Linked DNA regions of Homo sapiens: region 1 is linked to region 2. Evidence: promoter capture Hi-C in human tissues and cell types (Jung and others, 2019). All regions are on one chromosome and are shown on one strand. The core of a region is centred on a gene start or on the middle of the fragment in contact, and the rest is flanking DNA. Distances in the headings are between cores, read along the strand shown.

What was found. Contacts are between HindIII fragments. The study calls those that stand out against the background at their distance.
Region 1: a contact is called between a fragment that was not itself captured here and the fragment with the promoter of ADPRHL1 in region 2, in 3 of the 25 tissues and cell types used here (H1 embryonic stem cells, bladder and mesenchymal stem cells).

What each region holds. Positions count from the first base shown.
Region 1 is chr13:113,514,106-113,519,286 of GRCh38, reverse strand. The region is part of intron 7 of SLC9D1 (solute carrier family 9 member D1); the gene reads right to left. Among named protein-coding and RNA genes, the nearest start is that of SLC9D1, 26 kb to the right of the region's middle. The HindIII fragment of the contact is 4,216 bases long and covers 1,002-5,181 here.
Region 2 is chr13:113,450,755-113,456,356 of GRCh38, reverse strand. It overlaps ADPRHL1 (ADP-ribosylhydrolase like 1), which reads left to right and starts at 2,869. Exons shown (of 8, transcript NM_001394807.1): 1 at 2,869-3,133. The coding sequence starts at 2,920. DCUN1D2 (defective in cullin neddylation 1 domain containing 2) reads left to right here. Exons shown (of 7, transcript NM_001014283.2): 7 at 1-538. RefSeq lists enhancers at 1-339, 4,336-4,837. The HindIII fragment of the contact is 9,965 bases long and covers 1-5,602 here.

The sequences.
Region 1 (5,181 bases), core at 1,860-4,359, 63 kb before region 2:
ATCACCTGAGGTCAGGAGTTCGAGACCAGCCTGACCAACATGGTGAAACCCCATCTGTTCTAAAAAATACAAAAAATTAGCTGGGCATGGTGGCGGGCACCTGCAGTCCCAGCTACTTGGGAGGCTGAGGCAGGAGAATCACTTGAACCCAGGAGGCGGAGGTTACAGTGAGCTGAGATCACGCCACTGCACTCCAGCCTGGGGGACAAGAGCGAGACTCCGTCTCAAAAAAAAAAAAAAAAGCTACTGTTATCAACAGATTTTAAAAGACCAATCTGATAGAAAAGGCTTATTTTAAAAAAACAGCAGAACCACACAAAACCCCTTGATGCCAGCAAAAATCTCTTTCTGGATAGAGATTCAGGTAATTGTTTTAGAAGGCTTGATTGACTTATTGTACAAAATTAAATTTTTGGTGAACAAAATATCTTGGCTTAGAATTTTAAAACAGTCTGAACAGACGATGACGTTAAGCTGTTGTGGCTACAGCTTTGTGCCTTTTAGGGTTACACGATTCAGGAGATGATAAAATTGCCTCCCAACTAATATTGTCCATGCGGAGGCTTCACAGATCAGCGATTTTCACCCTAAGGCTCGCATGGGCTTGTGGTCACCGCATCTCTCTTCATCTCGCAGCCTTCGCAAGACGGGAGGGAGGCTGCGAGATGAGTCTGTGGGATGCAAAGGAGCCACGGCCACCCCACATCTTCCGCAGATAACACGTTCACACCTGCGCCCCTTCTATTTAAAAGAAACAAAATCTCTCACTACATCTCACTTTTTAGAGATAGCCTTTGATGATATTACTGCCAGCATTTTGTAAATGTTTTAAATATTTTGTTCTCTTCCTTTGCACCGATCATAGTGAACTGGCTGAAATCAACAGACACTCAACTGTTGCCCGCTAGGCCATGGGCACCACAGAGCAGAGACCAGGTCTTCACCAAGGTCCCTGATGCAGGACCCCGAGTCCACACCCACAGGGCCTGCGCAGGAAACACTGCTCACGAGGGACTTCACGGGGCTGCAGGAGGAAGACAAGTGCTCGGAGTAGTGACGGGCACAAAACTTCAGCAGTGCAACCAGACAAGATGAAAATATTACCACACTGAAATATTACAATTTCTCTAATTTCTCAACACTTTCACTATTGTCATCTTTCTGAAATCTGCACTACCTTTTTGTGCTTATCACTACTATAAGCATTTTGATTTCTTCCTGTTTTCCATTCCTTTTATTAAACAGTTTAAATATACAGAGAACAAGGAGTATATCAAATGCTCACATACCCACTAAGGAATTTGCTAAATTTTAAACCTGTAACATATTTGCTTCAGATTTTTAAAGAAATAAAGTCCTAAGGGTGCCGCCAAGGAGCTCTGTAAACCCCTTGCTGTGGGGCCCCTCTTCCCTCCACCCACACTCCCCACAAGGAGGTCTGTAAACCCCGTGCTGTGGGGCCCCTCTTCCCTCCACCCACAGTCCCCACTTGACCTTATTCTGAAAGTTCATCATCCCCTTGAATGCATTTCTACTTAATGTTAACACCTATAGATCTGGAGGCAACACTGAGTTTATTATTTTGTAATATTAAACTTCACAGAATCAACATTTCTGCGACTTGCCGTTTTTGACCACCACTATATCTGCAAATTATCCATGTTGATGCACAAAGCTCTGATTCATTTTTAAAACTGTTGTAGAACAGACCACAGTTTATCCATTCATCTCTTGGTGGACGTTCAGGAATTCCATTTATTCACTAATACAAAAATGGCTGCATGTAATCCCAGCACTTTGGGAGGCCAAGGCGGGCGGATCACGAGGTCAGGAGATCGAGACCATCCTGGCTAACACGGTGAAACCCCGTCTCTACTAAAAATAGAATTAGCCGGGCGTGGTGGCGGGCGCCTGTAGTCCCAGCTACTCGGGAGGCTGAGGCAGGAGAATGGCGTGAACCCGGGAGGTGGAACTTGCAGTGAGCTGAAATTGTGCCGTTGCACTCCAGCCTGGGCGACAGAGCGAGACTCCTCCTCAACAACAACAACAAAGGCTGCATGAATATTCTAGCACATTGTGGGGGAAACCTCCTTTCCCCTCGCTTGCATTTTCACAAGAAGGGAATGTTTCCTCACCACTCCTGGCCTCTTGCCTGGTCCCACATACATTACTCCCAGGGAGACAAGGGCGCTCTTCCTGGAAATGGATAGAGCCCGTCTTCCTTTGTGAACCAGCCAGCCCACGGCACCTGGTCTCAAGGTTCTCTTGCAGACCTGAGTTTCACAGGGCAGGCCCTGCCCACGGAGGCCTCTGGAGGCCAACGCTGCTTGTGGCTGGACAATGAGTCTTGCTCCGAGGTTAAGAATGAAGCCTAAGAAGCTCATCACTGCCAGGCATGCAAACCACACCTTCTTCACAATCCAGCTGCCATTCTGACCTCCAGGTGCCTGCCTCCTCTGTTCCTCTTTCTATGTGTTTTCAGCACAGGCAAGGCAGAGTGGAGTTACACATTTACTGGACTCCTTCGAGGGTTGGGCCCCTCGAAGGGGCTAGAAATCTTGAGAAATAGAAAAGGAGCAGAATTTGCATCAAAATCCATGTAAGAAGAGTGACTGAGGCCGCTGCTGTGGCCAGAGCTAACACCTTTAAGCTCTGGTGAGACAGTCTTAAGTTTGGGCTATATACAAATTTCTTTTCTTTTCTTTTCTTTTTTTTTTTTTTGAGATGGAGTCTCACTCTGTGGCCCAGGCTGGAGTGCAGTGGTGTGAACTCAGCTCACTGGAAGCTCCGCCTCCAGGGTTCAAGCAATTCTTGTGCCTCAGCCTCCCGAGTAGCTGGGGATTACAGGCGTGTGCCACCATGCCCGGCTAATTTTTATATTTTCAGTAGAGATGAGGTTTTGCCATGTTGGCCAGGACGGTCTTGAACTCCTGACCTGATGTGATCCACCTGCCTTGGCCTCCCAAAGTGCTGGGATTACAGGCATGAGCCACCATGCCTGGACATATATAGGAATTTCTAATAAAATTTCAAGCATATGCAAAAGTAGAAAGAAAAATACAGTGCATCTCAAGGAACAAATAATCCAGTTTCCATGATCAGGCAGACTAACCTTGTTTCATACACTAACCTCCACTCTACCCTCCTAAGGGAAACCCCAGTCATCCTCTTAACCATACCTTTCAATGTGCATCTCTAAGACACAAGGCTGGTGTCCAAATTGGGAAGAATGAATTTAATGATCCTGTAAGCAGATGAGATTATCTCATATGTAGAAAATCCTAAAGATTCCACACACAAAAATCTATTACAATAAACCAGTTCACAAAGTTGCAGGGCACAAAATAAACACACACAAGTCAGCTGCATTTCTTTTTTTTTTTTTTTTTTTTTTTTGGGACGGAGTCTCGCTCTGTCAACCAGGCTGGAGTGCAGTGGCACGATCTCGGCTCACTGCAAACTCTGTCTCCCGGGTTCACGCCATTCTTCTGCCTCAGCCTCTTGAGTGGCTGGGACTACAGGCGCCCGCCACCATGCCCGGCTAATTTTTTGTATTTTTAGTAGAGACGGGGTTTCACCATGTTAGCCAGGATGGTCTCGATCTCCTGACCTCGTGATCCGCCCGCCTCGGCCTCCCAAAGTGCTGGGATTACCAGCGTGAGCCACCGTGCCCAGCCACTTACCTTGTTTTTAAAAACAATTATTATAAAATACTTTGGATCAAGAAAAAAGGTACAAAGCATGTCATGAACAACCAGAGCCATCACTGAGCTTCTGGAAGAAATGTCACAAGCAGCCGACTGCCCTGCGTCTCTCTCTGATGGCATGCCTCCCCATCTCTGGCACAGCCACCCGGCCACATCTGTCATTCTCAAACACTTCTTGTTGCTTTTAGTGTAAAAGTTTGCATGTATGTAAAGTTCAGACTTTAAACACATAAAACATGTTGCATTCCACATCTTCTATCTTTCCCTCCATGCTACAGAATTCACATTTGCTTCTGCAGCATTCCAATGTATGAATACATCTTAACTGTCCAGCATGTTACTGAATATTCAGTTGATTAATTTTTTGCTACTAAAAATAATGCTGTTTTGAATTATAATAATTTGCAAGAATTTTCTAGGATATGTATATAGAAATGGAATTTTCTGATTGCAAAATTGTTCTCCAAAGTGGCTGAACCAATTTACATTCCCATGGAGAATGCTTAGATCTTGCAACTCCACATTCTTGCCAATGGTAGATCAGGTTAAAAATGTCTGCCAGGGCCAGGTGCGGTGGCTCATGCCTGCAATCCCAACGCTTTGGGAGGCCGAGGCAGGAGGACTGCTCGAGGCCAGGGTTCAAAACCAGCCTGGGTAACATAGCAAGACCTCCATCTCTACAAAAAGACTAAAAACTTAGCCAGGCATGGTGGCACACGCCTGTCATCCCAGCTACTCAGGATGCTGAGATGGGAGGATCACTTGAGCCCAGGAGGTTGGGGCTGCAGTGAGCCAAGATCAAGCCACTGCACTCCAGCCTGGGTGACAGCAAGACTCGGTCTAAAACAAAGCTTGGCAGCAAGCTCGTGTGGATGGCGTCGATCTCAGTCCCATCAGCCTGCACCCCGAATACTAGCGAGGCTCATGTCTTCCTGTTGCAAGACTCGGTCTAAAACAAAGCTTGGCAGCAGGCTTGTGTGGATGGCGTCGATCTCAGTCCCATCAGCCTGCACCCCAAATACTAGCGAGGCTCATGTCTTCCTGTTGCAAGACTCGGTCTAAAACAAAGCTTGGCAGCAGGCTTGTGTGGATGGCGTCGATCTCAGTCCCATCAGCCTGCACCCCGAATACTAGCGAGGCTCATGTCTTCCTTTTTGTTCATCATTTAGGTTTCTTCTCCCGTAAGTTATTTGCTCAGATATTCTGCCTATTTTCCCATTAGGTTACTTTTTGGTTTGGATTTACAGACGTTCTTGATACATTCTGAATATTAATCCTTTGCTCTAAACAAACAATAAATAACTATAGGAAATGTCTTCCTCTGGCCTGTGGCTTATTAAAAAAAAATGCCTTTCAATAAAAGTTACAGTTGTCCCCATAGTGAGGTTAGTATGAAAAAGAAGGTTACAAAGTCAAATGTGTCATATGTATCAGTATTTTCTCTTTTGAATTCTGCATTTTATATTTTAAGGAA
Region 2 (5,602 bases), core at 1,620-4,119:
AACTGTCGATGTTTCTTAGCAGAGATGGTCACAGAGGGCAGCAGGGACAGGACTGGAAGGGACCTGCAGCCTGCAGACCCCGCCTGGCCCCCGCTGGCTTCTGGCTGGTCCAGTGATGGGCAAGTGACAGACCTTCCCCAGGCTCTGCTTCCAGAACTCTAATGGGAAACTGGGCCTGTCTACCTTTAGAAGTCTTCGATTCTCAGAGAGCATTTGTCTAATACAATAAAAACTGGCATTAATACAAACCTCAAAAACGTGAGCGTATCTTCCAGGCTTCATGGATTCTTGACATGTAATTGTTTTGTTCAGAAAAGTTTATAGAATTCACATAATTCTGTATAAACTATGGAGATCCACAGTACTTTTTTGTTTTTGAGATTTAAAGTTCTAAGGGATTGTCAATAGATATCAAAATATTAATCATTGGACAAAGGCTTTTCCAAAAATTGTGGGTTTTTTTCTTCTGTTGTATCCATTTGAGTCCTGCATGCTGTGAAATGCTGAGAACAGAAGCATTAAATTGGTTTTTCTCGGGCGTGGTTTCCTTTCGATTCTCCTCAGCTGCAGGGATGTCTGCCTATAGGTGTCAGCATCCACGTCATTGTCCCAGGATGAGAGAACAGCCCCCAGCTAGCAACCAGCGGGCAAGCCCCTGCCCCCGTGTGTGGCCCGCCAGCCCTGGCCAGGTAACCAGGTCCTCAGGTACCTTCTGTCATTGCGTTGCCTCTCAGCGGTGCACCGTGCACCTGATGGGGTGGCTCATGTGAGGAATGAGAGATCTCACAATAGGCAGGATTTACGGGAGTGTGTCGGGGCAGGAGGTCATGTGTGCCAGCACAAACTGCTGGAAACCGTCCCTTATCGGAGGCAAACGGCCAAGCACGGGGGTCTGAGGATCATGTGCTACCTGCCGATTCACGGTGCACCTGCCAGCGTTCCGGAATCAACAACGCCAGCTCCTCTCAGTGACATTGTACATGTCATTGTGTTATTTTCGCTTGAAGTTTATATCCATTTTAGACCTCAGGCTTCTTGGGGCCAAGAATAAACTTTCTTCTGATCCTTGTTGCTGTGTCCACAGTTTCAGGTACAAAGTAGGGGCTCTGCAAATATTTGTTGGATAAACGAGCTAACCTTATCCCGTCCTGTTTGCTGAGGGAGCCAGCTAGTGCTCTTGGCAAAGGTTTCCGCCGCCTGCGAACTGAAGCGCTCAGCGAGCGGGCTGTGTTAATCCCCTCAGCAGCACACGCTTCGGCCCCACAGTGCAGTTGTGCCTAAAACAGGTGAGAGTTTGAACGAAGGGCCGCCCCTCCTGTCTGTCTTGTTTGGATAGGGACCCTGCGTGCATGCTGTTTTTTGTTTTGGAGTTTTGTTTGTTTGTTTGTTTGTTTCTGAGACAGAGTTTTGCTCTTGTTGCCCAGGCTGGAGTGCAATGGCGTGATCTCGGCTCACTGCAACCTCTGCCTCCTAGGTTCAAGTGATCCTCCTATCTCAGCCTCCCAAGTAGCTGGGATTACAGGTGCCCACCACCATGCCCGGCTAATTTTTGTATTTTTAGTAGAGACGGGGTTTCATCATATTGGTCAGGCTGGCCTCAAAATCCTGAGCTCAGGGGATCCGCCCGCCTCGGCCTCCCAAAGTGCTGGGATTACAGCCATGAGCCACCGCGCCCGGCCTGCATGCTGGTTTTGAAGTTTGTTTCTGAATCTCAGGATCATGCTAGCTGGCATGACTGTGCTGATGGCTGCCTCCACCAGCAGACAGTGGAGGGTGAGGTGAACTCACTGCTTGAGATCCTCCGTTTTAACAAGTGCTGATATAACGCCAGGCGGTTAAATGCTTCCTACTGTCTCGCTGTACACTACGAGAGTTTTTATCAGACGCATTTCTTCAGTCCAGGTGTAACTCTTTGCTTCCCCTGGGTCTGATGGAAACCAGGCCCCGAGGAAGGAGACGGGAGAGACACAGCCCTGCTGGGCTCCCGGCCTCTGCGGAGAACTGTCCTGGGGTGGGGTCGGGAGATGGACTGTTTTCCTAATTTATTTCAAACCAGGAACCCTGGCTGTGTGCATTCTGCCTCACCCCCCGTCTCCATATTTTTTAATATTCTTTTCATGAGCTAGCAGGGATGATGTAAATACACTGAGCTGACCGAGGGCCGGATGGGAGGTTCTAGTGAAGCCTGCGGTTTGCTGACGACTTTCCCCCTCAGTGCAGTCCAATTATTTGGGAGCCGTTAAACACCGCATGCTGAGAAGACACCGTCATTGTTCACACAGGAGCTAGATAGACTTTGTTCCCTCTACACTGCATTTTTTAAAAGTTTTCTATCAAAAACACATTTCATAATCGAAAAGTTTTCTAAATGATAAAACCGCATGTCACAGATTAATCTCAACATTATGTTGAGTGAAGGAAGCCAGACACCGAAGGCCACACATTGTATTTGAAATGTCCAGGAAAGGCAGAACTGTAGAGACAGCAGATGGGTTGTTGCCCGAGGGGTGAGGGCACGCCCCGCAGCGGGCGGCAGTGACAGGCACGCCTGCACACATCTGCTCCCGCATCACCCCACGCCACACACGGGGAAGTGTGCGCACTCCTTCCAGGGACAGCGAGAGGAGCCCCTGCTCTGTCAACGCTCTGAATGTGCTGCGGCTGCCGGCAGAAGCTAGCAGGCTCCTCTGCTGAGGAGCTGGTGCCTGTCCAGACGCAGAAGAAAACTGACACCTCCCACGTGGGGGACAGAAAGGTCCTCTCATTGGTGCCACCTGCAGAGATAGACAAGGAGCGCCTGGCCATCAGAGGACGCTCCTGACAGTGACACAGTGACCACTATAAAAGTCAGGCGGGCTGAGGAGGAGACAAAGGCCAGGACGCTCCGCAGCTGTTGGGGAAGAGGAGCTGCCTCCTGGGATGGAGAAATTTAAGGCTGCGATGTTGCTGGGGAGCGTCGGCGATGCTCTTGGCTACAGAAATGTCTGCAAGGAGAACAGCACTGTAGGCATGAAGATCCAGGAGGAGCTGCAACGTTCCGGGGGCCTGGACCACCTCGTACTCTCGCCAGGAGAATGGCCCGTGAGTGACAACACCATCATGCACATCGCAACCGCCGAGGCCCTCACCACAGGTAGGCTGGGCCCACCGCGCTCCGGTGTGCGGGCTGGAGGGAACACTGGCTGCTCGAGTTCTCCCAGTAAGCCTCCGAGAGCTTTGAAGGCAGTGCGGTCCTTCAGCGGATGGTGTTACCTGATACCGCTGCTAAAAGTGGCAATTTAATCTGAGTGTCCCTCAAATTTGATATGCGGCAGATCACGTTTCTCCTGTGGTTTCTCTGAGGGTGACAGTATTACTTTACTTTGCAGTTATTAAGATTCAGTTTTTAAACGTGACTTTTCACTTGTATTTGTAAAGCGTTAACTAGGCCTAGCACCTTCTGTTTCTAATAGAGTTAAAGCCAGTGAAGCCTCTCTCGGCCGTGCTGGTGGGAGTAGGGTGAGGGCTCACTTCTCGCTGCAGAGATTAAGCCTTCTTGTTCTGAATTCATTACAAAGGGATGTAAAATAAGCCAGTTTGAAATGTGAACCCATTAATACTGTTTGGGGATTAGTTCTAAATTCCAATGAATTAAAGTTAGAATATCATCTCCCAAAATGGTTCAGCTTGGAGAGTTGCCCATACACAAATGTGTTCTAAGAAAATGACATAAACTTGATTGGACGAGATTGGAGACAAAGCTTCTTAAAATACCTTTAAGTAGCAAATTGATTTTAGGATCAAGCTTTTGCATGAATTTCAGGGAAATGGCAGGTGCACAGACATGCAGTCCAGCTTTCCTACGAGGCATTTGCTCTTCAAAACCCCGTGGGTGCTGTTTATCATGGCAGAATTAAAATCTGAGGGCTGCAGCTAAGTCAATGAAATCTCACTTATGCGTTCACTCCACCATTCTGTTCATCTGCCATGGACGTGCCCAGTTTAGTTCTGTGCTCACAGCAGAGGAATGCCATCGAGCCTGTGGCCGGTCCCTAAATAACGGGAGAGCTGAAGCGCCGGCGATAAGATAAGGCTCCCGGCTTGCTGGAGACGGGGAGGCGTCCGACTGTTCACAGCCTTGGCGTCCAGGAGCTCCTGCTTCTGGTTTTCCAGGCGGCCACTCGTGTGCCCTTAGGACCAGCAACCCCATGCTTGTGCCCCGCAGCCCAGAACAGGTGCACCCCACACACAGACACCTGTGGGACACAGCTCCGGCTTGTTTTCACCGTAGACGGCTGGAGCTCACTCTTGAGTTTGGCTTCCTCTGGGCGTCTGATGCCGTGTGTGCGCTCATACCAGCTCTGCATGTCCCATTTCTGGTAGCACTTGGTGGGCGTTTTGTAAATGGCAGCGTCCATGGCTGTGGGTCTGGTCCTGCCAGGCCCGCAGGGAGGGCAGCGGCACAGGACACTCCAAAAGTGCACCGACGGAGATCGGCCCAACAGGACACGAAATTCACACAGTTAAAAGGGTTACGGACGTTTAGGGCACTGTTTTTTGTTTGTTTTTTGAGACGGAGTCTTTCTCCATCGCCCAGGCTGGAGTGCAGTGGCGTGATCTCAGCTCACTGCAACCTCCACCTCCCAGGTTCAAGTGATTCTCCTGCCTCAGCCTCCTGAGTAGCTGGGGCTACAGGTGCCCACCACCACGCCCGGCTGATTTTTGTATTTTTAGTAGAGACGGGGTTTCACCACGTTGTCCAGGCTGGTCTCGAACTCCTGACCTCAAGTGATCCACCCACCTCAGCTTCCCAAAGTGCTGGGATGACAGGCGTGAGCCACCATGGGGCGCTATTCTTAAGGAGGAAGTAAGTTTGCTCTAAGCTCTCAGGGTCCTCAGCTGTGGACTGGAAGGGAGGGTTCACTGTGCTGCTGCAGCGTCTAGTTTGTGGGTCATGAGAAAATACGCATCCAAGATCACCCCTGGAATTGCTTACTGTGGGCGGCAAGCCACCCAGGCACTGAGGCAAGAGACAGAGGACACGAGCTGTTCCAGTATAATAAAACAAGAATAGTTATACCAGATATAGATCTTAGATATGATTATATATGAATATCATTAATCATTAGTTTGTAGCAATTACTTTTTATTCCAATATTATGATAATCCTCGCTCTATAATCATAGCCTAGGAAAAACCAGGCCATACAGAGATAGGAGCTGAGGGGACATAGTGAGGTGTGACCAGAAGACAAGAGTGCGAGCCTTCTGTTATGCCCGGACAGGGCCACCAGATGGCTCCTTGGTCTAGCTGTGACGCCAGCGTCTGGGAAGACGCCCGTTACCAGGCGGATCGTGGTCCAGCAGTAGCAAAAGGTGGCAAGGAACAACACCTGCTACTTAGCAGACCAGGAAGGGGGGGGGGGTCTCCCTTTCCCCAGGGGAGTTTAGAGAAGACTGCTCTTCCACCTCTTGTGGAGGGCCTGACATGAGTCAGGCTCGCCCGCAGTTATCCGGAGGCCTAACCGTCTCCCTGTGATGCTGTGCTTCAGTGGTCACACTCCTAGTCTGCCTTCATGTTCCATCCTGTACACCTGGCTCTGCCTTCTAGATAGCAGTAGTAA